Regions from separate parts of the Homo sapiens genome. Here region 1 is linked to region 2. Evidence: promoter capture Hi-C in 16 types of primary human blood cells and fetal thymus (Javierre and others, 2016). All regions are on one chromosome and are shown on one strand. The core of a region is centred on a gene start or on the middle of the fragment in contact, and the rest is flanking DNA. Distances in the headings are between cores, read along the strand shown. Region 1 overlaps CKAP2 (cytoskeleton associated protein 2). Region 2 holds the start of NUP58 (nucleoporin 58).

What was found. Contacts are between HindIII fragments. The CHiCAGO score rates a contact against its expected background, and 5 or more counts as called.
Region 1: a fragment that was not itself captured here is called in contact with the fragment with the promoter of NUP58 in region 2 in 1 of 17 cell types (non-activated CD4 T cells); the score reaches 6.2 in non-activated CD4 T cells.

What each region holds. Positions count from the first base shown.
Region 1 is chr13:52,455,532-52,461,965 of GRCh38, forward strand. CKAP2 (cytoskeleton associated protein 2) reads left to right here. Exons shown (of 9, transcript NM_018204.5): 1 at 1-95; 2 at 992-1,076; 3 at 5,368-5,443; 4 at 5,527-6,395. The coding sequence starts at 26. Among named protein-coding and RNA genes, the nearest start is that of CKAP2, 3.3 kb to the left of the region's middle. The HindIII fragment of the contact is 1,098 bases long and covers 702-1,799 here.
Region 2 is chr13:25,299,126-25,305,894 of GRCh38, forward strand. It overlaps NUP58 (nucleoporin 58), which reads left to right and starts at 2,500. Exons shown (of 16, transcript NM_014089.4): 1 at 2,500-2,755. The coding sequence starts at 2,649. RefSeq lists enhancers at 2,156-2,395, 2,556-2,635, 2,746-2,795. The HindIII fragment of the contact is 2,784 bases long and covers 448-3,231 here.

The DNA of each region.
Region 1 (6,434 bases), core at 1-2,500, about 27 Mb after region 2:
ACGCATCCCCCGACCCGAGGCTACGATGAGCACACCGGCCGTGCCCCAGGACCTGCAGCTGCCCCCGAGTCAGAGGGCGCAGTCCGCATTCAAAGGTGAAGGCCGCGGTGGCGGTGGCGGTGGCGGTGGCGGTGGCGGTGGCGGGCGCGGGCCCGGCGGTCGGGGCTCGGGGCCGCGCTGGCGCGCTTCACCTCTCCCCCGCTCTGTGAGATCCCTGAACGCGGCGTCGGCCTCGCCCTGCCTCATTCTTGGCCTTGTGGAACGGATCATAAAAACAGGAACCGCTGCGTGGTGTTACTGTGCGGTCGCTGCTGGCTGGGATGGGCCCTCCTAAGAAGGAATCCGTTAGGCGAGGGGAAACGCGCGGGCCTCAGGCCGGGGTCGGTGTCGGAGACCCTGGGTCCGCTTGGGGGCGGGGCTGCACAGGTTCAGGGACCGACTGCGCCTGCGCTGGGTCCTCCGCCTCTTAGGTCCCTAGCGAATTTCTGCAGGGCTGGGGTCGCATCATGTGTTATTTCCAATTTCACAGCTTCTCCTTCGACTTTATGGAAACCGAGGGTTGGTTGGGTCTTCAAAACTAATATTGTTATTCCCTTATTCTACACACGGGAAAGCAGAAGAAAGTAATTCTCATCTAACCCAGTTCTGGTAAATTAGAACTTTCGAGTCTAGTGCCTCACTTCTACCATTTAGTTTCTTAAAGCTTGGCTAGCAGGAGCTGTATGTAGAAAATGATGTTCTCCAGATTTTTCACAGGGAGTAGAGAATGTGATTCTTATGCAGAGGGGTTTTGGGGACCTGTTGTGGTAACAGTCTCTTCTAAGGTGATTTCTCAAAGGCAATATTGAATTGGAGAATTTTCTGTTATATAGATGTGACCTCAGGTGGAACCAGCTTTGGAAGTAAACTCTTCATTTAGTCAACAAGATTTATTTGCCGTTATCGATGTTTTAACTAATATTGACTTGTAGCTCTTACCTTTGTTATCTAGAGCAAAGAAGACAAAAACTCAAGGAACATCTGTTGAGAAGAAAAACGCTTTTTGCATACAAGCAGGAAAATGAGATGTTATCCAGGTAAGGTCAAGTTTATTTCTTTTCACTTCTGTAAAATTGTATCAGATCTGTCCAATGAAAATGTAAAGTAAGCCATATCTGTAATTTTAAATTTTCTAGTAGCCACATTTAGAAAAACTGCTTACATATTATTTTACGTCTTTTTGTGGTACAACGTCTTTAAAATCTGGTGTCTATTTTACAGTTACAGGACATTTCCATTTGGTCTATCCACATTTCAAGCACTCAGTAGCCACATTGGCTAGTGGCTACTTTATTGGATGGTGCAGCATTAGATCATCGTTTTATTAATTTTTTTTTTTTTGAGACAGAGTCTCACTCTGTTGCCAGGTTGGAGTGCAGTAGCGTGATCTTGGCTCACTGCAGCCTCCACCTTCTGGGTTCAAGTGAATCTCCTGCCTCAGCTTCCCAAATACCTGGGACTGACTACAGGCAAGTGCCACCATTCCCTGCTAATTTTTGTATTTTAAACAGAGACCGGGTTTCACTATGTTGGCCGGGCTGGTCTTGGACTCCTGACCTTGAGATCCGCCCACCTCAGCCTCTGAAAGTGCTGTGATTACAAGGATGAGCCACCGCGCCCGGCCTAGATTATCGTTTTCTACGTAAATTAATTCACAGTCTAAGAGAAAAAAACAATTATAAAGCAAAGTATGTGCATAGACTAGATTATCAACTTACTGTTTACACCACACAAAGGTCAGTCTTTCTATTATTTAGCAAAGCTTTTTACTCAGTGTATGGGGGAGTTCATCAGGGAAGGGTTGGGTGGCCCTCCCAAATGCTTAGAGATTACTAGTTGTAGTCTCAACCCTCCACAGAAATATCTTTATTATTTTGTTAAAATATCTTAGATAGTACATAGCTGTAGCAAAAACAAAAACCCATGAAAGTAGATGAAGCAGAAAGGCAAAAGGTCCCCTCACTCTCTAGGGATAACCAGTAATAACATCCTTACAGGCTTAGGCTGGGTGCTGTGGCTTACACCTGTAATCCCAGCACTTTAGGAGGCTGAGGTGGGCAGATCACGAGGTCAGGAGATCAAGACCAGCCTGGCTAACACAGTGAAACCCCGTCTCTACTAAAAATACAAAAAATTAGCCAGGCATGGTGGTGGGTGCTTGTAATCCCAGCTACTGGGGAGGCTGAGGCAGGAGAATCGCTTGAACCTGGGAGATGGAGGTTGCAGTGAGCCGAGATCGTGCCATTGCACTCCAGCCTGGGTGACAGAGCGAGACTCCGTCTCAAAAAAAAAAAAAATTGTCTCAGGTAAACAAAATTGTATATACCACCCACACACATATTCAGAGAGTGGAAATGATAACGCAAATGGGATAAAAATTTTAACAATAGGTGGATCCTGGGTAAAGAGTGTACAGATATTCTTTGACCTGTTTATATTTTTGCAACTTTGTGTAAGTTTGGCATTCTAAAATTTTAAAAATAATTTCTAACTTTATATTAATAAGTTGCTTTAGTTTGGAATAAACAGTTTATCCTTCACAAATAAATCTTTTATTTCTTTGTTTAAGACAAAAAGGTGATCCTAGGTTTTTTATTTGAATAAGTAAATGAATGGTGATAACCGTATACTGAAATAGGAAGCCTGAAGGAGGAGCTGGGGAATTAGGAGTTCTGTTTTGACTATGTTTGAGGTACCAACCAGACATCCAAGCAGATATGCCAAATAATTGTGTGTCTGAAGTTCAGGGGAGGGGTTGGGGCTGGAAGCATAAACTCAGGAATTGATTAGTATACAGATGATATTTACTTAAAAACCTTAGGATGGAATGAAATTACTAGGGAATAAGTAGAGATAATATGGATTCAGACAGTGACTCTCAACCACTTATTTAAATAAAGAATCCAACAAGGTCAGGGGTTTATAATACTCTTAATAGGAAGAAAAGAAAATTCTAAAACGCTTCATGTGGCTTAAGTACTACATTTATTCCTTTCAGAAAACAGATGTTGGCTGGGTGCAGTGGCTCATGCCTGTAATCCCAGCACTTTGGGAGGCTGAGGCGGGTGTATCACTTGAGGTCAAGAGTTCTAGACCAGCCTGGCCAACATGGTGAAACCCCGTCTCTACTAAAAATATAAAAATTAGCCGGGTGTGGTGTCAGGCGCCTGTAATTCCGGGGAGGGCCGAGGCAGAAGAATCGCTTGAACCTGGGAGGCGGAGGTTGCAGTGAGCCAAGATCAGGCCATCGCACTCCAGCCTGGGTGACAAGAGCGAGACTTTGTCTCAAAAAAAAAAAAAAGGAAAACAGATGTCAATTTAAATGTTATCACCTCAGCAGTGAATCATTAAATAAGACAACCAACCTGTGTTGCAGCTTTTCAGAATTAAACAGTTATATTTTACAATCTCTAAAGTATAGATATCCTAAGACTCATTTCCGATAACCCTTCTGAGGGCAGTTTTATAATAAGACAGAATAGGATTAAGTCTCCCCACTGGACAGGTGAGTAAGATGGGTTCTTCTTGTCATCCTGAGTTTTGTTTTGTTAGCTGGCAGTTAGCTACTAAGATACCCTGTTAAGTGGCACATTTTGATCTTCCTTCACCATTGTTCAAAATGTATAGTACAGGTTGTGTCAAAGTTCTGTTCCTTCTCCAAGCTGACAGAACAAATAGATATGAAAGGCAATGTAAGCAAAATTATTAACTACTAAATTATGTCAAATGTAAAATATATATATATATATTTTGTTTTGTTTTGTTTTTTTGAGACGGAGCCTTGCTCTGTCGCCTAGGCTATAGTGCAGTGGCGCGATCTCAGCTCACTGCAACCTCTGCCTCGTGGGTTCAAGCGATTCTCCTGCCTCAGCCTCCAGGGTAGCTGGGATTACAAGCATTTGCCACCATGCCTGGCCAATATTTTTGATTTTAGTAGAGACAGGGTTTCGCCGTGTTGGCCAGGCTGGTCTCAAACTCCTGACCTGAGGTGATCTGCCCACCTTCTCTACCCAGAGTGCTAGGATTACAGGTGTGACCCACTGTTCCTGGCCTCATTTTTTTTTTCAGAGAATGAGAGATCACGCATTTTAATGTGATCTCTGAACTTAGGATCTGTCTTAAAATCAATGGCATGTCTAATTGACCGTATTTTTTCCTATCGTTATAGTACACAAAATTGTTAAAATCACTTGCTAAGAGATGCTCACAGTCTGCCTTAGCCAGTTTATAGCTGTAAAAATAAGTTAAGTCAGTTTCTTGAGGAGGGATTTTCTTTGCAATACCGCCTAGAAACTAACGTTCTTTTTTTTGAGAGATGATCTCATTCTGTGTCACTCAGCCTCTAGTGCAGTGACGGGATCTTGGCCCACTGCCTCAACTCCCAGGCTCAAGCAGTCCTCCACCCCAGCCTCCCAAGTAGCTGGGACTATGGCACCCACCACCACACCCAACTAATTTTTTATTTTTTTGTAGAGATGGGGTTTTGCCGTGTTGCCCAGGCTGCTCTCGAACTCCTGAGCTCAAGTAATCCCCCCACCTCGGCCTCCCAAAGTGCTGCTATTACAGGCATGAGCCACCACAACCAGCAGTGCATATTCTTAATGTATCCTAATATAAATTAAGCTGTGAATGGCATATGGTAATTTTTGGATCACTTCTGGGAGGGCTCTTTAATAAAAGTATTTTCAATGTAGTACATCTGTTACTAAGTACTTAAAACTAACCCAAGGAGGTATTACTTACTAAAGGTTATTTGAAGACTTGTTTGAATGACTTGAGAATGATTTGAAATAAGATTATTAAGTATTTACAAATTCTATGGGCAGAGAGTGTTAGGACTTTTAGAAAATATCTTTAAATTCCTCAGCCATTTGTTTACACTATTTTTTTTTGAGACAGAGTCTCTCTCTGTCACCCAGGCTGGAGTGCAGTGGCTCGATCTTGGCTCACTGCGAACTCCGCCTCCCGGGTTCATGCCATTCTCCTTCCTCAGCCTCCCTAGTAGCTGGGACTACAGGACTACAAGCGCCCGCCACCATGCCCGGCTAATTTTTTGTATTTTTAGTAGAGACGGGGTTTCACTGTGTTAGTCAGGATGGTCTCGATCTCCTGACCTCGTGATCTGCCCACCTCGGCCTCCCAAAGTGCTGGGATTACAGGCATGAGCCACCGCGCCTGGCCGCTTAGGACAAATTTCAACTCAGGTCTTTTTTAAATTTAAAATTAGTAAGTCAGTTAATTGTTAACATTGCCCTCTTCTTCCTCCCCAAAAGGAAGCCTCCTTGGTACAGGATTGATTGATCATTTTGTTTGTTTGTTTTTAAGTAGTAGAGATCAGAGAGTTGTGACATCTGAGGACCAAGTTCAAGAAGGGACTAAAGTGCTGAAACTTAAAACAAAAATGGTAAGATGTGGACATAGCACTCTTAAACTGTCCCCTTTTCCATTTTGCCTTTCCTAAACACTTTTCTTAAATAATTCTTTCAGGCTGATAAAGAAAACATGAAGAGACCTGCAGAGAGCAAAAATAATACAGTGGTGGGGAAACATTGTATTCCTTTAAAACCTTCAAATGAACTAACCAATTCAACTGTAGTAATTGACACACATAAACCTAAGGATAGTAATCAAACTCCGCATTTGTTACTAACTGAAGATGATCCCCAAAGTCAACATATGACATTAAGCCAGGCATTTCACCTTAAAAACAATAGTAAAAAGAAACAAATGACTACAGAAAAACAAAAGCAAGATGCTAACATGCCCAAGAAACCTGTGCTTGGATCTTATCGTGGCCAGATTGTTCAGTCTAAGATTAATTCATTTAGAAAACCTCTACAAGTCAAAGATGAGAGTTCTGCAGCAACAAAGAAACTTTCAGCCACTATACCTAAAGCCACAAAACCTCAGCCTGTAAACACCAGCAGTGTAACAGTGAAAAGTAATAGATCCTCCAATATGACTGCCACTACTAAATTTGTGAGCACTACATCTCAGAACACACAACTTGTGCGACCTCCTATTAGAAGTCATCACAGTAATACCCGGGACACTGTGAAACAAGGCATCAGTAGAACTTCTGCCAATGTTACAATCCGGAAAGGGCCTCATGAAAAAGAACTATTACAATCAAAAACAGCTTTATCTAGTGTCAAAACCAGTTCTTCTCAAGGTATAATAAGAAATAAGACTCTATCAAGATCCATAGCATCTGAAGTTATAGCCAGGCCTGCTTCATTGTCTAATGATAAACTGATGGAAAAGTCAGAGCCCGTTGACCAGCGAAGACATACTGCAGGAAAAGCAATTGTTGATAGTAGATCAGCTCAGCCCAAAGAAACCTCGGAAGAGAGAAAGTAAGTAGATATAATTTTCTTTATTACATTAGTTTTCAA
Region 2 (6,769 bases), core at 1,250-3,749:
GCAGTGAGCCAGGATCTAGCCAGTGCACTCCAGCCTGGTGTCAGAGTGAGACTCCATCCAAAAAAAAAAAAAGTTACAGATTTACAGAATTATTACATAGTGTGCTCATATTCCTCACACCCAGTTTCCCCTATTAGGAAATTAGTCCCTATGATATTTTTACATGTTCTTTCTTTCCTGTGAATATTACAAGTCTTGTTCATTATTATATATTTAAGTGCCAGCCATTTTGCTATTACTAATTGTAGGTTGGTATTCTTCAATAGTTTTGGAAAGAATACACGAGAAAATCAAAAGACATAGGGAGTGCCTTTCTATCTTCCCATAAAAATCATCAGGATCTTTTTTTTTTTCAGTCAAAAGGAAGTCTCCTAGACTTTATGTGAACAATCCTCTTACTGACCACCCTATAGCCATCACTGAAAATAGCTTTCTCTATATCACCGAAGCTTTAAAACTCACAACAATCTTTTATTTTTGCCTCCTGTTCGATAACTATGAAGTTTTTATTTATATCTTAATCCAAATATATCCCTTTTTTCTTTTTTATCATTCCCATTATGACTTCTATGACGTTTAAAATGTTATGGCCGGGCACAGTGGCTTACGCCTGTAATCCCAGCACTTTGGGAGGCCGAGGTGGGCAGATCGCTTGAGGCCAGGAGTTCAAGACCAGCCTGGCCAACATGGTGAAAACCCATCTCTACTGAAAAATACAGAAATTAACCGGGCGTGGTGGCGTGCGCCTGTGATCCCAGTTACTTGGGAGGCTGAGGCAGGAGAATCGCTTGAACTCAGGAGACGGAGGTTGCAGTGAGCCGAGATGGCACCACTGTATTCCAGCCTGGGCAACAGAGCGAGACTCTGTCTCAAAATAAAGTAAAATATAAATTAAATTTAAAAAACAAAATAAAATGTACGTTTCTTTTTAATTATACAAACACAGAGGTGGTGTATTAGTCTGCTTGGCTGATACAACAAAATACCATAGACTGAGGTGGCTATAACAACAGACATTTACTTCTCTCAATTCTGGAGGCTAAGTCCCAGATAAAGATGGGGCAGTTTGGGTTCCAGGTGAAAGCCCCTTCTTGCTCTGTCCTCACATGGCACACAGAGGAGAACAAGCTCTTCGTTGTTTTTTCTCATAAGGGCACTAATCTCGCCATGGGCGACCCACCAAGGTGACCTCATCTAAATTGAATTACCTCCCAAAGGCTCCATCTCCAAATACCAACATATTGGGGTGGGGTAGGGCTTTAACATATGGATTGGGGGAGGAGGGAAATAGTTCAGTCCACAGCTGGTGGCAATGCCCAAGCTCAACGGAAGATTAAAGTACTGAATTAGGGAGAACTGTGAGATGAGGTTAGAAAGACTAATCATACGGAGGTCATCAAGTGCCAAACTAAAGAGCCACTGGGCTTTTTAGATCATAAATCCGGGGGTTGCTTATGGGATGGATTTTGTTAGAGATCACGAGTAGGAAAACCATTTGGGGGAGTAATGTAACAATCCCTGAGGGAAAAATAAAAACTAACACTATGATGACAACCCTCGAATGCACCACCACCAGGAAGCCTTTCCTGATGCTTCGCCAGAGAGGTTCTCTTTAAACGCGAATTTTTCTTGAGTTATCCTAGAAATGTAAGTTACACCTCACATTTCGCCTTCTTTCGTACATGTTCCTGTGCGTTTCCTAATCCTTCCACTTTGTAGTTCCTCCAGCACCGGTTGTGTCCGAGGGCCCTTCTGGCGGAGCCACACTCGCTCGGCCCAAGGTCCCGCCCTCCAGCATCAGGATGCACGGACAGTATTTGTGGACTTGACCGCATCCCAGGAAATCCAGCGGGCCTGGCCACTTCTGGGCGCCAGGACCACAGCCGGCCACCCCACGGACGCCTGGGACGCTCTTCTGGGCCCCCTTCGGGGCTGGGCGTCGGGCTCGCAACAACTGCGACCAACTGGCTCCGCGAGGCCTGGGGCGCAGGGGTGGGGCTCACGTCGTGGGACGGTTGCATGGATTATTTTCGATTGATTTCCGAACCTTCAGGAAGCAGACACGCTCCCCTTCCTTCTTAGGGATGGGGCGGCAGCCAACGAAAGCCCGAAGCCGCCTCCTTTTCTGAGTGGGGAGCTTAGAGATGCTCAGGAGGGACCTCCCCGATTCTGCGATTCTGAGCATCAATTTTGGCAGGAGGCTAGATAGAAGTAGCAATTGACATTCATCACCCTAAAGTGCGGATTATGTCAGTACAGATGCTACGATAGAAGAACTAAAAAATGACAGAAATGGTTTTACTGTTTTTAAACTCTGGGAGCCTACTCCTTTAAGAGATTAGGCAGTACGCCTATTCTCGCCTGGTCCCAGCGTACCTTGCGCGGCTCGCCGTCCCCCACTCACGTACCAGGGCTCATTGCGTGACGGTTACACTTCCGGCGGGCTACGTGCGCGCGGCGAGCGCCGGGCGTACTTTTGCGTGGTTGCTCCACCCCCTCAGCCTTGCCTTCGCCGCCGTTGGGGCTGGAAGTTCCCGCCAGGTCCGTGCCGGGCGAGAGAGATGCTGCCCGGCCCGCCTCGGCTTTGAGGCGAGAGAAGTGTCCCAGACCCATTTCGCCTTGCTGACGGCGTCGAGCCCTGGCCAGACATGTCCACAGGGTTCTCCTTCGGGTCCGGGACTCTGGGCTCCACCACCGTGGCCGCCGGCGGGACCAGCACAGGCGGCGTTTTCTCCTTCGGAACGGGAGCGTCTAGGTAACCGCACTTTCTCGCCTTCCTGGGCCGGATTCACCCCCACCCCCACCCCCGCAAAGCTCCCTTGGTGTCCCCATCCTGTCTCTTCCCTCTGGCTTCCTTCCCAGTGGGGCTGGAGAGAAGCACTTAATCTAGCCGCCCGGCGTCGTAGGCCTCTCGCCGCGGTACCCGGGCCCAGCGCGGCCTGGTGAAGTGGAGGGCGGGATGGGTTCTGTGCTGTGAGGTTTCCAGAATCCACGTATAGTTCAGGCATTATTTGGACCTAGTGGGGTCTTGACTGCGTGGAAGGGCCTTGGGGTCTACCCCGGAGCTTTAGCGATGTGTCAGTCTTAGGCATAGAATGAACATTGAATGAATGAATGAAATTATAGCATACTGTGGAGTTTTATGATAGATAATTCCGATTTCATTGCAGCATTTGCGGTTTTGGATATGACGGTGTTTTAATAACTTTGTGGTTTTTAACCAGCTTTTCAAGCTTTTGTGCCACATGGGACCTTATCTGTTTTTGTTAAAAAAAACAAAAACACTTTTTTACAGTGTTTATTAGTGGTAATTTTCTGCAGTATGTGCAGATTAGTATATCTGATGCGAGAATGTTGTGTTGTAATAACTCAATTTGTCTTTTACTTAAATTACAAAACGTAGGTAGCATGTTCCTTGTTTTTGTGCAACCCATTAGTTCAGGTGGCGACAAAAACATAACTATCCAGAAAGAAACAAAGTGGTGAGACATTTTAATGAGAGATTTAAGCTTTAGAACTCAATTTTTTTTAAGATAAAGGTGGAGGGGTTCATAAAGTTAAGGAGTGTGCACACTGTCAACAAGATACTTCCTGAAGCTTAAAAGATGTGGCTGTAGATTTAAAAGGCAAATACTTAAGCATGACCTGCAGTTTAAAAAGGGAGGGAGGAGGAACCACGGACTACACAGTCAATTCAGAAATTTGAATTTTCATCCATACCTCCGTTATTCTTACTCTACTCGCTCAACAACAGGTTCTGATAATGTTACTTCTGCCATTTCTGTTTGTCTTTATTTCCAGTTCCACAACCCTGCTTAGGCTATTGTCATTCGTGGAACAAATATTTATTGGACAGATTCCCATGTGCAAGGCTCTGTTTTAGGTATTAAGAGTCTTGCTCTCTTGATCCTTACATTCTTATGAAAATAATTTTGATTCTTGTCAGATTTTTAACCAGCTGTCTTTCTTGTTTTAGATGAAAACTACTCCAATCAACTTCTTCAATCTGTTCTGCCACATTTTAGCCAGAGTAATTGAAAAACAAAATTCCCATTGCTCTCTCTTTAATCATTACCCGCCATCGTTAGAATGAAGTTTAAAAAAGAAAAAAAAACTTACCATAGTCTGCAAGGTCCACTTCTGCTGGAACCTCTGGGGACTCATCTTGAGCGGGACTCATCTTGAGCCCATCTTTTTATTTTAGCTATGCAGACCCACTGTTAAAAACAAACACACAACTACCACCCTAAATAACTGAAATGAAGTTTCAGAGAAAGATACCCTTACTTCATGGGATGCACTTTGATATTTTCTATTTCTTTTTTTTTTTAATGTTGCTTATGACTTGATGAATTAATTTTTATATTTCTCTCATGGTCCTGATCTTAGAAAGCCTGTCCTAGCAACATGGCCTTTTCTCTTTTCAAGTGGGCTTTGCCAGCCCCTTCCTTGCAAATATCAAATGGTCTCTTCCCCAGAGAGGCCTTTTCTGACCTGTCAGTCTAGGGGAGATTTCCATTCTCCTAGTACTCTTAGAGTGCTGATCACAATTGTAATCAGTTTGTTATATTTATTGTTAACTTGTTTGTTGTCAGATCTCAGCACTAGAATAATTAATACCTATGTCTCTCACTGACTAGAAACTGCCTGAGGGCAAGGTCTGAGTCTTAATTTCCCACCTCATTGTCAGTCCCAAGGACAGTGCCTGGCATAGAAAAAGGGCTTTAATAACAATTTGAATGACTGAGCAAATGAGTTATTAGTAATAAGCTATAAAAAATTACCCAAGTTTTAGAGAGGCTTGGATAAATTAATGAAAGAGGAGACTGTCCGACATAAATTTGTTAGAGTGCTGGTTGGGAGGCCTGACAGCCCCTAGTGCCACCTAGTGATTTGATGTCTTGAGGTTGGTCATTTTAGGGGAGTTCTCACATCTGGAAAAGGAGTATAATATATTACCTGAGTTGATGAGTGAGATGAAGTATTTAAATATTTAGCATCAAGTCTGGCACTTGCTAAGTGCTCAGTAAATCTTAGCTATTATGTTAGCTACCAAGTCTGCATTAGGGCAAGCTGGGCAAGTTAAAATAACATTCCAGATGTGATTGAGTCAAGTTGGCTTTTCTACAGTACATCCTATCAAGTCCTTGGCAGATAACATTGGTTTGAGGCAATAATTGGTCAAGTTTAGGGTAGCTTTTGCTTTTCTTGAATTTAGTAAATTTCACTGCCACCAAAATTTCTCTCTTGCTTTTGTGGTAGAGAAAAATTTCATTTTGATGTGTTTCTTTGGCAGTATTTTCAACTTTCATTATGTAATACTTCATAATGTCTTCAGTTATGTTGTCAAGATTATATATATATATATATATATATATATATATATATATATGTATTTTTTTTTTTTTTTAAGACAGTCTCACTCTTGTTACCCAGCCTGGAGTGCAATGGCGTGATCTTGGCTCATTGCAACCTCCACCTTACGGGTTCAAGCAATTCTCCTGCCTCAGCCTCCCAAATAGCTGGGATTACAGGCACGCCACCACACCCGGCTAAATTTTTTATTTTTATTTTTGGTATTTTTAGTAGAGATGGGGTTTCACCATGTTGGCCAGGCTGGTCTCAAACTCCTGACTTCAGGTGATCCATCCACCTTGGCATCCCAAGGTGCTGGGATTACAGGCGTGAGCCACCACACCCAGCCGGCAGTAATGTTTTAGTATCCCCCAAATACTCATTTACCCTACTCCACATTATACACACAACAGTGTCAAAATAACAATACGATCAGACTACTACCAGCTAAGCTAAATGTTTTGGCATATATGCCCCTTTTATGGTTGTACTACCTATGTTGTCTGGATATAGCCATTACATACTATATTCTTTTGCTTGTAGCGCTCACTTAGGTTTCTGTGTGTGTGATCTCACTTAGTTTTGATTGTAGCAATATGTTGTTAAAAATACCTTTTAAATTAAGACTAAATGTTTAAAGATCTGTGGGGTTTTTTTTTTTTTTTTTTTTTTTTTTTTTTTGAGACAGGGCCTTGCCCTGTCTCCCAGGCTGGAATGCAGTGGCGCAATCTCAGCCCGCTACAACCTCCACCTCCTGGGCTAAAGTGATCTTTCCACCTCAGCTTCCTGAGTAGCTGGGATTACATTCAGGTGTGCATTGGCACGCCTGGCTAATTTTTGTTTTTTGGAAGTTTTTTGTTGTTGTTTTTTCGGTAGAGAGAGTTTCACCATGTGGCCCAGGCTGGGCTCAAGCTTCTGGGCTCAAGCAGTCTGCCTACCTCAACCTCCCAAAGTGCTGGGATTACAGGTGTGAGCCACCCGGCCTGGTCAAGATCTGTGTTTTAATTGTTAGCGAGAGCTTACCGCCCTGCTTTGTCTCCTGCCTCGCCTTCATATGCCCAAGGTGCACACAAACACATTTTAAAAATCAGTACTTCTCCTTTTACCTACTCAGTATGGATGGCACATCTCAAGTTCTACCCTTAATAAGCTCCTCCACCTCCATTCCCCTCACAGTGATTAGCTCTTTGCCTCAAACTTCTGCAGTATCTCTTTGCCATCGTTTGGTACTTGATTATAATCTTACTTATAGTAATTCTAAACTTACTGAAGGTGTGTACATTTCTACTGCTTGAATTATCTCCTGCTTGAGTATTTCTTTTCCTCCTTGTCTCCCAGTGTTTGCAAAAATTTGAGTGGCTTCTTAAGCTGATTATGAAATTGAAGACACCCGGACCCAAGTAACTTGGAGAAC